Linked DNA regions of Homo sapiens: region 2 is linked to region 1. The links are contacts of gene promoters, found by promoter capture Hi-C in human tissues and cell types (Jung and others, 2019). All regions are on one chromosome and are shown on one strand. Each heading gives the region's core, a stretch centred on a gene start or on the middle of the fragment in contact. The rest is flanking DNA. Distances are from core to core; before and after follow the strand shown.

Region 1 (3,792 bases), core at 861-3,360:
CAAAGAAGGAAAAGGTTAGTGTGAACACAGGGAAGCAACGTGACACCAGAGCTGGGGATTAGCCTCTGTTGGGGTTTAGGTTTCTGCAGAATGAAAGCTTTCTCACTCATAGGCCCCCCACATTGCAGGACTCTGCTAGGGCCCCATTTCCAGGGCTTTTTTCTTGGGGGCTTTGAGGAGCCCTGAGAAGGGGGCTTCAAGGATGAGGAAACTGAGGCCCAGAGAAGGGGAAGAGTCGGCTCCAGGTCACACAGCTGGTCTGAGGTGTCCAGAGCCTTCCTAGGCCTTGGCAACACAGCAGCTGTGTGGGCATGCTGGAGCTGGGAGGGAGGGGCTGCACCCAGGCCCTGCAAGGTGCCCCTTGCCACCTGCACCCCGGGCTCACCTTGTCAAAGTCCTGATAGTGCTCCTGGACTGTTTTCTGCAGGAACCACAGGAACCTCTGGTTGAAGGCCTTGAACCTCTGCAGGGCAGGGTTAGGCAGGTAGCGAAGGATGGGGAAGAAGTCCAGGGGGTTCCCGGAGGAGGCAGTCTCCACGAACTCATGAGTGTTCTTCACGAGGCTGAGCATCTCATCGCTACTCTCAGGGAAGTGCTGTCCGAAGCACATGGCACCAATGACGTTGGCCACTGACACCACCACCTGATTGTAAGGGTCGAAGTGCCCAGGCCCTGCCATCAGCTCCTGCAACCTGCTGATCAGGGCCTTAGCCTCCTTGCTCACATGCTCCTCCAGGTAGCAGGAGGATGAGGAAGCTGGGTCAGAGGCGATGGAGAAGGTGTTGAGGGCATTCTGGGCCAGGCGCCGGCGGGCAGCCCACACCGGTCCAGAGTCTGTGCTGAAGGTCAAGCTCTGGCCATCAGTGATGAGGGTGGAGGTGTAGAGGTCAGGCCGGCCCTTGAAATCGTCGCCCTGCCGCACCAGGGCCTGCCGGATGGTGTCCAGGCGGCTCAGCACCAGCACGGGCGTGGAGCCAATGCGGATCTGCAGGACGTCCCCGTAGCGCTGGCTCATCCTTGACAGTGCCAGGTGCGGGTTCTTCCCCAGGGTCAGCACATGCCCGAGCAAGGGCCAGCCCCATGGCTCTGGTGGACTTTTCAGGCCTTTGGGGACCCGAGGCCTCAAACCCTTGAGCACCCAGAATACCAGGCAGAAGATGGCAGAGGCCAGGAGAAGCTCTGTGGCCGAGAAGGGAACAGACTGGGACAATGCCATCTGTACCAACTGCAGGGAAAAAAGGAGGGACCAGGCTGAGGGTTGAGATGGAGACATTCATTCATTCATTTCCTCAGTCATTTGATAAACACTGATGCGTGTTCTGTGCTTGGCTCCCAGCTGGATACCAGAAAGACTAAGCTCCATCTACCATGCGTCCTGGGCCCACAGAGCTCACCCTTTGAGCATCACAGAATCTGAGAGCTGGAAAGGAGCCTCAAGATTCCCAACATGAACGCTGGCTCTCTCCTCCACACATCATCTCAGTTTCCACTTCTGGGGCTGGAGTAGAGGCAAGTGACCACTCCAAAATGGGGAAGCCAAGGACAGCACCCTTGTCAGCCCCTGGCACAGCATGCATGCTGGGTATTGTACCAAAGAGTCCCTGCCAGTGCTGGCTTTCTGCTGATACCTTCCATATACCCAAGGGACCAGGAGTTCCCCCTACCCAGTGACACTGAGGTGGCCAAGGTCCCAGGGCTGGTTCAAATAGCCTGTGATGCCCCCTCCCCAGGGCATTCTTTATCAATACCAGGAGGGGCACCTCCTCCAGGGATGAGTCCCCATCCTCTCACAGTCTTGGAGGTTGGGGTTGGGCTTCAGCCAGGGCCAGGGCTGCCCTTGTGCTAAGGGGGAAGCCCTCCCCATCGCTCTCCTTAAAAATGGCTTAGTCCAAACTGCTCATTTAAAATCGGGAAACAGAAGTCAAGAGCTGGGTAGCAAAGCCCGGAACTCAGGACCCCTACACCTAGCCCAGGCTCCCCGTCTTTCTGTCCCCACTAGCTTCCAGGTTCTATAGTTGGGGATCCCAGAGATTGTAAATTGGTCCCAAGAAAGGTACCTGTAGAGGCAGGTGCTTGAGATTGGCAGGGTTGTAATGGCTGGTGTGGAGCTTCTGGCTCTAGGTGAGTGGCCTTTTTATAAACACCGCCCCCTATCAGATTGGCCTGGTTGTCCTGATCACCTGATATGAAAGCTGGATCACTGAACAAAGTTGGAAGGATCAACTCTTGGCCTTGGGCCATTATCCCTCAGCTCCACCTACTACCTAAGACCCAGGGTGACTCTTTGGGGATAGGCCAGAAGGGGTGCTGGGTCCCTGGGGATGAAGGTACAGCTGTCTTTAGGGTTCAGGGTAGGGAGCCTATTTCTCTGAAGAGTAGGGTAGGGTCTGGGAGTGGGGGTTAGGCCTTTGGACTGATCTGGGCTTCTTTCCCACTGCACACATGAGGAAGAGCTCTGCCAGGGCACTCAGTCTAGGCCAACCAGGCTCACGGCCCCTCTCCAGAGGGATGTTCTTCTGTAGTACCCTCCAACAACCTGCAAAACCAAACAGTAAATGGGCGTGTTCCAGCCACTCCTGATTTTCAGCCCAAGTCCCCAAGTGGAAAAGAAGAGATGATAAAGATTTTGCATCCTAAAGAGAGGCCCCCCTTATGCAAAAAGACTAAGAGACATAACCAAATGCAATATGGATTTGCATTTGATTGCCATATCGATTGGATATGGCATTTAAACAAAATTTTAAAAAAATCTATAAAAGATGTTTTGGGGACAATTGGGGACATGTAAGCACGGACTGGAGATTAGATGATATTCTGGAATAAATGTAAATTTTTTTAGGTGTGAACAGAGTGTCATGGTATGTGGGAGTGTATCCTTATTCTTAGGAGATTAATGCTGTAGCATGGAAGTGTCATGATCCCCACAACCTCCTTTTGAATGGTTCTGTTAAAAAATGTACACCTCTAGGCCAGGCGCGATGGCTCGCACCTGTAATCCCAGCACTTTGAGAGGCCGAGATGGGCGGATCACCTGAGATCAGGTGTTCAAGACCAGCCTGGCCAACCTGGTGAAACTCCGTCTCTACTAAAAATACAAAAATTAGCCAGGCATGGTGGCATGTGCCTGTGATCCCAGCTACTCGGGAGGCTGAGGCAGGAGAATGGCTTGAACTTGGGAGGTGGAGGCTGCAGTGAGCCAAGATCGTGCCACTCCACTCCAGCCTGGGCGACAGAGTGAGACTCCGTCTCAAAAAAAAAAAAAATGTACACCTTTAAAGAGTGTAATTGGATTGTTTGTAACTCAAAGGTTTATCCTTGCTTGAGGGGATGGATACTCCATTCTCCATGAATGCTTATTTCATATTGCATGCCTGTATCAAAACATTTCATGTACCCCATACATATATACACCTACTATGTACCCATAAAATTAAAACAATGTATACCTATCTATCAATAAATCGAGAGAAAGTAGATATGAGAAATGTCAGATATTCATGGACTTACGTGAGGATATATGGTGTTTGTTGTACTAAAGGAGTCTTTAATATGGACCCAGATCTCAGTCAGATCTAAGAGGAGGAGGAGGACAAGCCTTAAATTGGATGTGAAAAGGAAGTTTGCTATCTTTTTTTTTTTTTTTTAGATACAGAGTCTTGCTCTGTCACCCAGGTTGGGGTTCATGTGCCACAATCATGGCTCACTGCAGCCTCGACCTCCTGAGCTCAAACAATCCTCTTGCCTCAGCCTCCTGAGTAGCTGGGACCACAATCACAGGTGTGTGCACCATGC
Region 2 (3,497 bases), core at 243-2,742, 99 kb after region 1:
ACACATTCAGGAAGCAACTAAATTTAGCTCTTTGTTTAACCCCAATTTTTTCTCTCTGGAAATTCCTTTCAGGTTCTTTGGCAGGGCTTCTGTCTCCCGCAGTCACGGATCATCAGACATTTCTCTAGCTTGGGCCTGCCCTGCTAAATAATGGTGTCCAGTGATCACACTCTGGATTGGCCAGGGTCTTTCTGGATCCAGACTTGTAATTTGAAATTCTTTGAAGACTGATTCTACGTGCATGTGTTAAGTTTAAATATAAAACACTAGATGTGTGTGAGCACTCTGTGTTCAGTGGTGAGAACTCCCCAAAGAATACTGCTTAGTAAAGTGGTAAGGCTTCAGAGAAGAATCTTTATTCAACACTCATAAGATTCTTTTTTTAATTTTTTTTTAAATTTTATTATTATTTTTTGAGACAGAGTCTTACTCTGGCACCCAGGCTGGAGTGCAGTAGTGCAGTATCAGCTCACTGCAACCTCCACCTACTGAGTTCAAGTGATTCTCCTGCCTTAGCCTCCCATGTAGCTGGGATTACAGGCACACACCACCACACCTGGCAAATTTTTGTATTTTTAGTAGAGATGGGGTTTCACCATATTGGCCAGGCTGGTCTCGAATTCCTGATCTCAGGTGATCTGCCCACCTTGTCCTTCCAAAGTGCTGGGATTACAGGCATGAGCCACCGCGCCTGGCCTAACACTCATGGTATTCTAAAGGAAATACTTTAAGACAGTTTGGGTCAGTCAAAACACTGTGTTTATTATGTTTATTATGTGTAACTGACTCTAAGATAGTCCTTGCCTTTAAGTTATGAAAATGTAATAGGAGATGGAAAGATTCCATATATGCCCAGAGTCCAGTGAAAGTGTGGACATTAAGTGCACTAGGTGTTGAGAGGCAGGAGAGGTCCTGTAGGCTGCATCAAGGAAGGCTTCATGATGGAAGCCTTGAAACATGGGCAGGATTTCACCAGGCAGAGAGAAAGAGGAAGATATTCATGGGTAGGCTAGGCAGGTGCAGGTGAATAGTATGAGTAAAGGGCTGTGTGGGAGACTGGTCATTAGCTGGCTTGGCCAGGGCAGAGAGTTTGTGCTGGGGAGTAGAAGGAACTAAAATATAGCTTTGGACCAGAGCATAGAGGGCCTTGTGTGCCAGTGCTATCCTTGTCCTGTAGTCATAGGGAACAACTGAAGGCTTTTGGATAGGAAAATGACATGATCCAAATCTCTTTTAGGAAGACTGGTCTTGTGGTAGGATTCCAGGTGGAACGAGAGGGGAGAGAAGAGACCAGAGCAGGACCAGTCATGCTCATGATGTAGTTTACATACTAGGGATTTAGACCATTGAATGGAAAGGAACACAAAGATATGAGGGAAGCAACAGAGGGCAATTTGATAGGCTATGATGATTGAAAACAGGGTTGAGTGAACAGGAGGATTTGGAGGTATTGAACCTGTGAGGCAGGAAGAATGGCAGCAAGTCAAGTTATCATGAGATTGCACGAATTTATAGTGGGCCAAGCCTACATGGTTTTGTGACCCCCCCCCCCTTTTTTTCCCTCCTGCAATGCTTTGTGCCTGAGCCCAGAGAAAGCAAAGGCAAGAGTTGCTACAATGAGGGATAGGGAGATGTGGGAGTTATTGGTTATTAAGAGCTTTAATGAGGAGTTAAAAGTTATATAGCCAAAGAGAGGCTACTAAGCTGGTTTCCTTATCTATAAAGTGGGCTAATACTGTGGATTAAATGAGATTATGTGGAAAAGTAGCTAGCACAATACCCAATCTGTAATTATTATTCAGTAAATATTTGACTTCAAATGTGAATTTGCAAAGGCCACCTCAGTAAGATTATTTCAAAGCATCAGCATTTATAGAATACCTACTATGTGCCAGACACTGTTTTAAATACTCTGGGTAAGTCATAGTTCATCACCTTAGGGGCCTCTGAGTATAACTGAACCAAATATGTAAATATACTAATAACAGAAGTGTAGTTGGCTGCAGTGGCTCACACCTGTAATCCCACCACTTTGGGAGGCTGAGGCAGGAGGCTGGCTCGCTTGAGCCTGGCCTAAGCAACATAATGAGACCCCATCTCTACAAAAAAATAAAAATAAAAAATTAGCCAGGGTGCTAACACGGTGAAACCCCGTCTCTACTAAAAATAACAAAAAAAAAATTAGCCGGGCGTGGTGGCAGGTGCCTGTAGTCCCAGCTACTTGGGAGGCTGAGGCAGGAGAATGGCGTGAACCTGGGAGGCGGAGCTTGCAGTGAGCTGAGATTGTGCCACTGCACTCCAGCCTGGGCGACAGAGTGAGACTCTGTCTCAAAAAAAAAAAAAAAAAAAAAATTAGCCAGGGTGTGATGGTATGTGCCTGTGGTCCCAGCTACTCGGGAGGCACAGGTTGGGGGATTGCTTGAGGCCAGGAATTCAAGACCAGCCTGGGCAACATAGCAAGATCCTATCTCAACGTTTAAAAAAAATGACTAGAATTCTTCCTTCCCTCTGTTGTAATAAATTCTCTATTCATGAGCCTTTCCTTCTGGGTAGACTTCTTTAACCTCCACCATTTGTTTTCTACTGTGCAGCCCTCTTCTGTCCTCAAGTATGTAAAAGCCCAGATGGGAGGCAGTAGGGTGCTCTTGGTGCAGGCATCTCTGCAGCTTTGCCTGAAGGATGATCCACTTCCACACTGTGCGCTGAGATTTAGGGAACAGGAAGTGTGTGAGGATGACCCGAACTAGAGTTCCTATTTATTTCCTTAAAAAGGATCCAGTTAAGCTTGAGTGAGGTGCTCTGGTCTGAGCTCCAGCACCTTTTACCAATACTCATTTCTTTTGGAAAAGGCAGTTCTGGTTTCTGCTAGGAAGGGAGGCAGCTGGTGAAGCCACAAATGATTTGTTCCTGTGGCTTTGTGACTCTACTCTTCTCACGCTGGCCGGCTAAGTCTTTGAGCCTTGGTGGGGATGTATCTAGCTCTTAGGACAAGTTTGGCTTTCAGAAAATTCCAGGCTAGCAGTTGTCTCTTTCACAGCTGGCATTCCATTCCTGCCTCTGAGCCGTAGCTGCCTTCCTCTGCTTCTTGTCACCAAGAGTCCCTCTAGAAGTAATCTAAGGCTTTCAAGACCAGCAGTGTTTTTATCTCCTCAAAAATAGGTAGTCAAGAAATCTGTTTTGATTTTTTTGCATGTGTGTTCAAAAGGAATTCAGGAAGAAATAAATCTTGGAGTTTAGAAGTGCCACTGAAGAATTTTACCTGGAGGTAGTGAGGTCTCCTTTGGCAGCTGTTGTACTCTTGCAGATAATTCTTCCCATTGAGAGAATCAAGTGTCTACCACCATGGAGCTGGTCAGCATCTCATTGCCTTCTCACCCATAGACCCAACCCATGCAGGGTCCTGCCTTGTCTCCCCATAACCCCCTCCCCAACTTCATTCCCCAACGGTATGTGTATGGATTAGATCAGGTGCCACAAGGATGTTATTCTGGGAGACA

What was found. The method cuts DNA at HindIII sites, captures the fragments that hold promoters and counts their contacts. A contact is called where the count stands out against the background at its distance.
Region 2: a fragment that was not itself captured here is called in contact with the fragment with the promoter of CYP1A2 in region 1 in 2 of the 25 tissues and cell types used here (heart right ventricle and spleen).

What each region holds. Positions count from the first base shown.
Region 1 is chr15:74,747,163-74,750,954 of GRCh38, reverse strand. It overlaps CYP1A2 (cytochrome P450 family 1 subfamily A member 2), which reads right to left and starts at 2,110. Exons shown (of 7, transcript NM_000761.5): 1 at 2,058-2,110; 2 at 386-1,225. The coding sequence starts at 1,216. RefSeq lists promoters at 1,217-2,354, 2,020-3,792 and a cis regulatory region at 3,441-3,792. The HindIII fragment of the contact is 12,167 bases long and covers 1-3,792 here.
Region 2 is chr15:74,647,916-74,651,412 of GRCh38, reverse strand. All of the region lies in intron 4 of EDC3 (enhancer of mRNA decapping 3), which reads left to right. Among named protein-coding and RNA genes, the nearest start is that of CLK3, 34 kb to the right of the region's middle. The HindIII fragment of the contact is 6,435 bases long and covers 1-3,497 here.